Regions from separate parts of the Homo sapiens genome. Here all the other regions are linked to region 2. Evidence: promoter capture Hi-C in 16 types of primary human blood cells and fetal thymus (Javierre and others, 2016). All regions are on one chromosome and are shown on one strand. Each heading gives the region's core, a stretch centred on a gene start or on the middle of the fragment in contact. The rest is flanking DNA. Distances are from core to core; before and after follow the strand shown.

Region 1 (3,244 bases), core at 542-3,041, 1.7 Mb before region 2:
CCAGATATGTTTATTAGGGTAACCGTTCCTAAGAAAACGTATAGCCTGTGTTAGTCACCCAGAACCTGACAGGGTAACCCCCACTTAGTTTTTACTCTATTGTCTTTGAAAAGCACCTGCTGAGATAAAATTGTTTCCATCTCCCTGTTGCATTTGGCTTACATATCCATTAGAGCAGGGAAGAAGTGGTTTACAAACTGACATTTGATAATCTAATAAGATAAATACTGCTGCCATTATTTTGAACCAAAAATAAATAAACGATGTATCTCCTGTACTACTTAAAAAAAGATACCTGTAATGACGACGAGCAACCAGTGCGGATGCCACTCTCCCTTCCCTTTCTCCCACACCACAATTGCCTAAGAAATTGTTGCTGTCCATGATTGCAAGTTCATGTAAAAAGAGTTCAAGTGTACTTTCATCCCAGCCATTCTCTGGACACTTGCCCTTAAAAAAAAAAAAAAACTTATGATTATATTTAATAAAACTACCGTTCTCTAGAATACTACAGGAATACAGTTTTTCTTTTTAACGTGTATTTTGCCACGCTGCTTGTTTTCTAAAATTCAAGCATAAATTCACCACTGTATAGAGACCGCAAAGAGGCAAAACGTTTGTACATTTGATTACAATTATTTACAGATTTCGAGAAGTGATGATAAATGCATACAATGAGGTTTACTGAGATATTTAAATTTCCGTAAGTGAAACTAACTGAAAACCAATACAACACATCCCCAGTGAAGATGCTTCAAACCAGGGCGTTACGACTGGGGCGGTGGGACGTGGAGAAGGGCGGTAGTTGTCAAACTTCAGTGAAATTTTGGCCACGCGCTGTAGCTCACTCACGCCTGTAATCCGAGCACTTTGGAAGGCCAAGAATGGCCGATCACTTGAAGTCAGGAGTTTGAGATCAGCCTGGCCAACATGGTGAAACCCCATCTCTACTAAAAATACAAACATTAACCGGGTGTGGTGGCGGGCGCCTGTAGTCCCAGCTACTCGGGAGGCTGAGGCAGGCGAATGGCGTGAACCCGGGAGGCGGAGGCTGCAGTGAGCCGAGATCGTCACACTGCATTCCAGCCTGGGCGAAAGAGCGAGACTCTGTTTCAAAAAAACAAAACACAACAAAACTTTTAATGAAATTAAAATACATGAACGCTGGCAGGAGGGAGACCTGTGAAGTTCCGCGGAAAGCTCGTGGTTCGAGTTAGCATACAGTCTACAAACACCATTATGTGTTCTGAGTCGTTGAGGGTTGGTGAAAGATGGAGGTGCGAACTTTGCCCTTTCCGCGAATAAAAAAGTACACTGGGACTTTCCCTCACTTCCGCATCCCGAAGTTAGAAACAGCGGGACTCAAAACCCCGACCCCAACACCCCCTCCTAACAACACCATTTGGCTTTCACTGGCTTTGGCAAGGCTGAGAAGGCACAGACCGCAGTCGGTCAGCTAGGGCAAGCCAAGCTGAGACAGACTTGGGACTAGTCTCAAGCAGCGAAGAGCTGCCGGTGAGGCAGCACCAGCGGGGACGCCCGGCGGAGCCAGAGCCCCGGGGTCGCGGCGGCTGGGGAGGGGACCGACAGCTCGGTACCTTCTCCAGAAGCAGCCGTATGAGGTGCTCATGCGAGCGGCGGGCCTCACAGCCCTGCCGCACGTAAGCCGGCGACACCAGCCGCTCTCCCGCCGCGAAGCTCTCGCGGTTCATGACAGCGGTGGCGACAGTGGCGAATAAGCGGGAGCACTAGCTCCACACGCCAGACACACGACGGAACCAGAATGCAACTCGCCGCCTGGACGGTACGGCAGCGCCTTGGGACAAAAAACAAAACAAAACAAAACAAAACAAAAAAAACACTTCTCGTTCGTGCACATGCGCAGACCTTCTCAGATGGCGCTCCAGGAGGAAGTTGGCGTATTTGAGCATGCGCGAGGGAGTCCGCGCTTTTCGCTGACTTTTGGCAAAGGAAGGACTGAAATTAGCCCCGCCCCGCTGCGGCTGATTCGTCTAGTTAAACCCTGGTGTTCCTGACACAAACTTCAGGAAAGGATTTTGCACTTGTGCAGACCGGGCGAGCAGAGTAAGAAGCAGGTACGTGGGTTTTTCCAAGTTCTGTGTTTCAGTCCTGTTGGATGGTTGAGATCTGTGCAGGGTCTGTGCTTCCGCCTTATTCAAACTGTCAGATGCCAGAACCTTCGATCTTTACTTTGATACATTTCCACACTTATTACTGCCTCACAACCCCATAGGAAATAGCAGTGCCCCACTCATTTTCCCCTTGACACTACTGTTTAGCCATAGCACTTACTACTCACCACGTGACATGCCAGACGTTTGTTTATACACACACACACACACACCCATACCCATGAATGTAAACTCTCTAACCTAACGGCAGGACCTCGGTTTTTGCTGCGGTGCCCCCTTCCCCCGGGCACCTAAAACAGTGCCCAGAATAAAGTAGGGCCTAAAAAAAAAGTTGATATTGAATTAATGAATTAGTTTGACCATTCTGAAACTATCCCCAAGAACATTTTGTAAAATTGATTAAGGAGGGGAAAAAAATCCAACTAGGCTTACAGCTGCTGTTATTAAGCCAGCTTGCAGTGTGGCCGACTTTCTTGTAGCTGGTTGCTACTTACTACCCCAGGAGAATGTGGCCCTTGTCACAAGACTCTTCATTCTTTTTCTGCTCTGAAGATAAAATCTAAGACATTATGAGAAGATAAGCTTTCTGTTTGCATTGCTTCTTTAGGTCCCGCATACCAACAAAACTAAGGACGCCAACTTGTCTGGAAGGCCCAATAAAAAGCTGATTCATGGAGGAATGCAATTGTCACATCCTAATGATTTCATCTCCCTTACCCCAACGAATCGATAACCCCAAATTTTCCAGCCCCTCACCCTCCACAAATCCCCTTAAAAAACTTTGCCTAGAACCCCTTGATGAAATGGATTGAAGCTTGAGAACTCTTCCTGTTTCCTGGCTTGTAACTTGTGATTATTAAAACTTTCTCTGCTGCAAGCCTGCTGTCGGAATACTGGTCTGTTTCTGCACAGCCGGCATAGGAACCTGGCAGTGCTGTAACAGTTCAACAACTTAGAGGTTCACTGCTGGAGATCCCTGCCTCCAGTTTCCTTACAATCTTCATCTTATGTGAGCCTACAGTAATTCCTGACATTGCTTTCACCTGGTGGTTTGTCCATTTGCACTGAGTCACACCCACTTGCAAGAGCTG
Region 2 (3,230 bases), core at 439-2,938:
CCTAACCCTCACCACTCAGTACTCTGCCTGGCACATACTAGGTACTCAGTAAACATTTAATAAATGAAATGCCTCCTGGAGAGCAGGAACAAGCTTGTTATTTATATTGTTCTGGTCCCCTAGCAGAATTATCTTCTCTGGTGGGCACTCAGCACTCTGGTGTGACTTCATCGCTGTGCCTTTCAGCAGGGGAAATATAATCTCCCGGTTGCCCTATAAAGAATTGCCACCTGAACACTATGCCCACAAGAAGTCTGCTGAGAAATAACTGTTGATAGATTGACTTAGCCTCAAAGACATCCTTGATTCTTTTCTAAAGTGTGCATCTGCCCTTCCACAATAAACGATATTTGTGGTTATCTTGGCCAGGCTACCTAAGAAATACTTTAGGAGAATGTAATTTGAGTATCTTCTTGGCTTGAGAAAGCAAGCAAACAAACCAATAAGCAGAATGAAACCAACAAAACCCAATAGCAAAAGGATCTTCGTGTTTAATAACCCTATCTGCAAATTTTAAACAATTTTGTGCCCCTGGGAGAAAGAATGCCTCCTTGCGTGTGAATTTCCAGGGCTTTTAATTTATAGTGACAGTACATTCAACACTTCCTTTTAAATTTGAAGGGAGGTGGCCTTAAAAATATGCTGGCAACTAGTTTGGATGAGAAAGATTCCGGTTCTTTATTTATTCAAACCAATTAGACCAGGTCTGAACAGGATTTACAACAGAGAGCAGATCTTGGGTGCACAAGAGCTTTGCTTCATTCCAGGTTGGCGAAAACAAGTCAAGTCTACATCATTGTTCTGTCAGCCGGTTCAGGATACAGCACAGAGTCGATGGGATGGGGGTGGGAAGGTGATGAGTTCAGGTAAATGTACCTAGGAGAGTCAGAGGCTAAAGTAAATTCTCTTAAATAGGCCTTTTCAGTGGCTGCTAAATCTCGCTCATTTCCCATGAATTAGCTGTGGGATATTGGGGACAACTTACTTCACATTTCTAGGTCTTAGTCTCTTCATTCGTAAAAGGGGGTAACGATAATTTTGGAGTTATAGCATGTAAATGTGTAAAACGGTTAGAGCAATGCCTGGTACACTCACACATAGCACGCGCTTTGTGAAATGTTTGGCAAGTAAATAAAACGCTAAGCTATGCTAACCGCGTCTAAACAGCCAGCCACTTGTAAGCCCCACCTATATTGAAATTACGGGGACGCTGCTGTTTTCCGATTGCAAGATTTTCCTGATCCATGCAATTACTTTCGCTGCCCTCTACGAGGCTGAAACTCGCCCTCAGGATGTGGGACGTCTGGACTCTTCTCTCCGTCCCCTTGTAGCCCCCCACTCCCCCTCGCGGTGGTACCGTGAATGAGGGAGAGGTACACGTCCCCCTTCTTCCCCGCCTCCTATCTTCGCGGCTCGCTAAAGCGTTATCAGCCGCCCCACGGTACTACCGTCCGTCTAGGAACGCCTCCGGGGCGGGGCTGGGATGCCGCGCACGCGCAGTACAGCAGCGCCGCGCCTGCGCCGTGGAGAGCCTGAGGGAGGCGGGGGATTGGTATGCGAGCGAATGTGCGAGGGGAGGGAGGCGTCCCGGCGGAGCGTGGTACTACGACCAGCGCGGGCCGGAGGGGGCGGGGGGATGCGCCGCGGCGGCGGCGGCGCGGGAGCTGGGGTTGGTGTTTGGCGGCGCCAGAGCAGCGGATCCCGGTCTCGCCGCAGCAGCAGCGCGGGTGTCGTGCACCGCCTGAAGACGCCGTACCTTTCTACCCCCCACCTTTTTTTTTTTTTTTTTTAAATAACCGGAACCAATGAACGCAGCCGGGATCAGAGCTCCGGAGGCCGCCGGTGCCGATGGGACCAGGCTGGCGCCCGGCGGGAGCCCGTGTCTGAGGCGGCGGGGGCGGCCGGAGGAGTCGCCGGCGGCGGTGGTGGCGCCTCGCGGAGCCGGCGAGCTGCAGGCGGCCGGGGCGCCGCTGCGCTTTCACCCGGCTTCTCCTCGGCGCCTTCATCCCGCCTCGACTCCTGGCCCAGCGTGGGGCTGGCTGCTGCGGCGGCGGCGCTGGGCTGCGTTGCTGGTGCTCGGGCTGCTGGTAGCCGGAGCGGCGGACGGATGCGAGCTTGTGCCCCGGCACCTCCGCGGGCGGCGGGCGACTGGCTCTGCCGCAACTGCCGCCTCCTCTCCCGCCGCGGCGGCCGGCGATAGCCCGGCGCTCATGACAGGTGAGGGGCCGGGGGGCGGCGGGCGGGGCTCGGCCGGCAGCGATGGGACCCCCAACCCGTGCAGAGGTCAGCATCTCCGCCGGACGTCCGCTATTCCGCGGCTCCGGCCAGGGCGCGATGCGGAGCCCTGCCTGCTGCTTCGTCGCGGTCCCCTGCACTCCGGACGTCTTTCCTTTTCACCCCGACACCCCGCCCTCGCCGAGCCTCTCGACGGCACTGATTCCCCTCCCTTCAGTCGGGCTCTCCGATCTTCCAAGCTGAGCAATGCGGTGGTTTCTCTTTCGTGCTGCAGAAGTGCCAGCAGGGTCTGCAGGGGACTGGGCTGATTTTTTTTTTTTTTTTTTTTTTGAGGCTGCTAGAAAAAGTCAGCAGCAGCATTGCGGTATTGAGTCTACCTCTGGTGCTGCTTTTGCAAAGGCAGCTGGCAGCGAGTCTCACCGGTTCAAAGCTCCGCTTGAGCACAGCGTCCCAGGGGAGCCTGCTAAAGGGGATTCTTTGAGAGCCATAATACCTAGTGATATTAGTGGTTCCGTGTTAGTATGCAGAAATGCCTAAGTTTACAGTGCATTTTTTGCGGGGTGGAAGGAGGCCGTTTTAAGTGGTGATGGAAAGTGTTTGGTGGTGGGAGCATCACTGGGTGACAAAGGGTGTAGAAACCTCAGCAGGTAACCAGAAATTATACCTAAAATTTGCAAAGTGCAGCATACTCGGGGCTTGCAGCTGGCAGCACAGTTCTGATAGACTGCACTAGCACCTTTTTTTTAATATATAGAACGATCTCATAATTGAAAACTTGGAAACGTGTTTTGTAAGGTTAAGTGCAGAATTGTATCCTTTTTAAAGCCTTCCGGTGTTATGTACAACTGATCAGTTGTGGTTTAAGTAAAAGTTATTATATAAGGACCCTGAAATGATTTCTTTGGGAAAAGTAATGGAGCTAAAATAATGGTTTTTTTTTTTTTTTTTAGTATTTCACTTATTTTTAAAGTAGATCTGTAGATTTCCTACAATAA
Region 3 (2,973 bases), core at 414-2,913, 1.6 Mb before region 2:
AATGGTTACATTTTTGCTAGACTTTAGGTAGTGCCCAGTAACTCTATGCTATGCATAAGATAAGGTGAATATTCAAAGAAAATGGAGTAAAGGAAGTTAATTATACAGATATCTCAGGTGAAGGAATGATTGATCTTATCCTTGTTCTGCATCTGGGAAGATAAGCTTGTAACTGAATTTATCCATGTGAAATTTAACAGACTTTAGTTGTACCAGTTTGATTTAGGTTGCAGACTTAAAGTTATACAATTGACACGTCCTTGTTTTATGGAAGGATATACATCTTGAAAGGTTTAAGGGCCAGTAAAGAATTTACTATGATTAATTTGTTGAGGACAGTCATCCTGAGACTGAGATGCATAAGGCTTTTTTTTGCATTTTGAGGAGGGTCTGGCTAACATATAAAGTTTTAATACAACTATGGGAAGTAACAGCTATCCATTTGGGAAAAGCATTGTAGTGTTGAGTGACTTCAGTCTCCAGGCTTAACTCTCCCTTTGACATAACAAGTTGGGGGTGGGGGGTGGTTCTGAGATTTTTATTTTCCTTTACAGGGTCAAAGAGGAAATCATAAAGGAAATTAAAAACTATTTTCAGCTGAAGGAAAACAAAAGCACAGTAGCAGGCCAGGCAAGGTGGCTTATGCTTGTAATCCCAGAATTTTGGGATGCTGAAGCAGGACGACTGCTTGAGACCAGGAGCTCAAGACCAATCTGGGCAACAGTGAGATCCCATCTCTACAAAAAATTTAAATTTAAAAATTAACAGGATGTGGTCGTGCACACCTGCAGTTCCAGCTACTGTGTCTTCTACAGTTTAAAGCTGAGAAGATCCCTTGAGCTTAGGAGGTTGAGACTGCAGTGAGCTATGATTGTGTCACTGCACTCCAGCCTGGATAACAAAGTGAGACCCTGTCTCAAAAATAACAACCACCAAGAAAAAAAAAAAGGAGAATTCAGCTAAAGCAGTGCTTAGAGGGCAATTTATAGCCTTAAAATACTAGCATTGGAAAAGCAGAAAGATCCAGAATCAATCATCTTCTACTCTAAGCAACTAGAAAAAGAAGAGGAAATCAAAACTCAAGTGAGCAATAAAGAGCAAAATAAGGCAATGGACCAGAAAACAGAAAATCAATGGAACCAAAACATGACATTTTGAAAAGATTTAAAAATTGATAAACTTCTAGCTAGATTAGTCAGAAAAAGAAAACATACAAACTGCCACTATCAAGAATATCTGAACAAAGACAAGGTCCCTGCCCTCCTGGACGTCTACTGGAGGAAAGAAATGTCATACAATTAAATCTATAGTTACAGATTATGGTAAACTCTGAGAGAGAATTCTGTCAGGGAGAAGCCGCTTTTGGTTGCAGGAGGGCACCTCTTTGAAAATTACTCACCTTCCCGCCCTCCACTGGGAGTAAAGCGAGCTGTGCCCAGCTTCTCCCCGCGCTCACGGAAGCAGGTGGCGGCCCCACCCCACCTGACCCCTCAAAAGCCCCGCCCCCTGTTCACTCCCACGTGCCCCGCTGCCGCCGCCGCCGCCGCCACGACCCTTCTGCGCAGGCGCGGGGGTGGTGCCTGGCGGAGGCGCGAGGTGGGGCGCGGCCGGCGGCGAGGCGGGACAACCGCTGGGCGGGCGCCAAGCGTGCCCGTGCGCTGGTGAGGTGGCGTCCGTTCTACCCGGTCGCTCCCGTTCCGCGCCATGCAGAGCCCAGTCTCTGGCACCTGGCTGCTCTGATCTGGTCTCAGCGCGGAGGGAGCAGAGGGAGTCCATGGAGGATCCCTCCGAGCCCGACCGGTTGGCGTCCGCGGACGGCGGGAGCCCGGAGGAGGAGGAGGATGGGGAGCGGGAGCCGCTGCTACCGCGGATCGCCTGGGCCCACCCGCGGAGAGGCGCCCCAGGCAGCGCCGTGAGGCTGCTGGACGCTGCCGGGGAGGAGGGCGAGGCCGGCGACGAGGAGCTGCCCCTCCCGCCCGGGGACGTGGGGGTCTCCCGGAGTTCGTCCGCCGAGCTGGACCGGAGCCGCCCCGCGGTTTCAGGTGCGACCCGGCCCTGCCCCACTCCCCGCGCCCCTCCGGGCGGCTGCCCCTGTCGCCCGGCTCGGTCCTGTCTCCCGCGCGCGCTGGCCGAGGTGGACGGGCTTTCCCCGCTCGCTGGGCAGCAGCTCCCGAGCTCGGACCGGCGCCAGCCGCAGCCGCACCGCGGGCACCTAGCTTGCTCGCTCTTTCTCCGGGAGCTCCCTCTCCTAAGGCCAGTGGTTGTCATTAAACCGATTCTTTAGACCTCCCCGCAAAGTGAGTCAAAACTTCTAGAAACCGACACTGGGGAGAGGTTAACGCTGTAAAATGACGTAAGTCCTTGCTCAAGTTTGGACTTGACTTTTGAATTAAGAACCTTGAACTCTCAGGAAAGTTCCCGGAGTGGTGAATTTGCAAAGTGGATGACAGGAGAGAGATGGACAGCCAGAATATCCAGTTGCCACTGGGGCACGTTTCAAAACCTTTTTCTATTAAATGTTGTTATTATGAAGTTAGCCACAGGGGGCAAAAGCAGTTGAAAGTCTGTTCCTGCCCTCTTACAGTTTAGTTTCTCTTTCTTGATTTACTTCTAATACATAAGAAAACCAAAACGAAAAACCTCTTTTCGCTATTAAGCGGACTGATAACCTCAGGCGAAACAGGGCAGTTGAAATGATGTTGAAGGTTAAATTTAGGTATGCTGTGCAGGCCTGGATATTTATTAATAAAGTGAGTTTTTCTGGCGTGTTGAATGGAGTTAGACAAATGTGATGGAAATAGCAAGAGACTTGTAAGACTCTCAGCTAGAGGTGAGACAGACTTGTTTGTAAAAAGGCGATGGTACACCTCCCTGCTGGTTGTGAGGATGGATTAAATGAGATGTTGTGCACCCGGTTGGTTTATCGCTTCACACATGACAACTTAAAAACCACAGAAAATGGAAGTTTCTTTA

What was found. Contacts are between HindIII fragments. The CHiCAGO score rates a contact against its expected background, and 5 or more counts as called.
Region 1: the fragment with the promoter of SEPSECS here is called in contact with the fragment with the promoter of STIM2 in region 2 in 1 of 17 cell types (total CD8 T cells); the score reaches 6.4 in total CD8 T cells.
Region 3: a contact is called between a fragment that was not itself captured here and the fragment with the promoter of STIM2 in region 2, in 1 of 17 cell types (non-activated CD4 T cells). The highest score is 6.7, in non-activated CD4 T cells.

The regions. Positions count from the first base shown.
Region 1 is chr4:25,158,658-25,161,901 of GRCh38, forward strand. SEPSECS (Sep (O-phosphoserine) tRNA:Sec (selenocysteine) tRNA synthase) reads right to left here and starts at 1,792. Exons shown (of 11, transcript NM_016955.4): 1 at 1,599-1,792; 2 at 296-450. The coding sequence starts at 1,712. It overlaps SEPSECS-DT (SEPSECS divergent transcript), which reads left to right and starts at 2,015. Exons shown (of 2, transcript NR_037934.1): 1 at 2,015-2,096. RefSeq lists a silencer at 1,476-1,645 and an enhancer at 1,756-2,055. The HindIII fragment of the contact is 2,962 bases long and covers 1-2,733 here.
Region 2 is chr4:26,859,153-26,862,382 of GRCh38, forward strand. It overlaps STIM2 (stromal interaction molecule 2), which reads left to right and starts at 1,689. Exons shown (of 12, transcript NM_020860.4): 1 at 1,689-2,217. The coding sequence starts at 2,067. STIM2-AS1 (STIM2 antisense RNA 1) reads right to left here and starts at 1,447. Exons shown (of 2, transcript NR_134674.1): 1 at 1,358-1,447; 2 at 472-876. RefSeq lists an enhancer at 1,246-1,345 and silencers at 1,436-1,805, 1,816-2,385. The HindIII fragment of the contact is 3,345 bases long and covers 92-3,230 here.
Region 3 is chr4:25,232,390-25,235,362 of GRCh38, forward strand. It overlaps PI4K2B (phosphatidylinositol 4-kinase type 2 beta), which reads left to right and starts at 1,644. Exons shown (of 10, transcript NM_018323.4): 1 at 1,644-2,042. The coding sequence starts at 1,775. LOC105374535 (a long non-coding RNA gene) reads right to left here and starts at 1,476. Exons shown (of 4, transcript XR_925490.3): 1 at 1,400-1,476. RefSeq lists silencers at 1,434-1,743, 1,844-2,083, 2,124-2,183 and enhancers at 1,470-1,971, 1,972-2,471, 2,404-2,533. The HindIII fragment of the contact is 3,001 bases long and covers 164-2,973 here.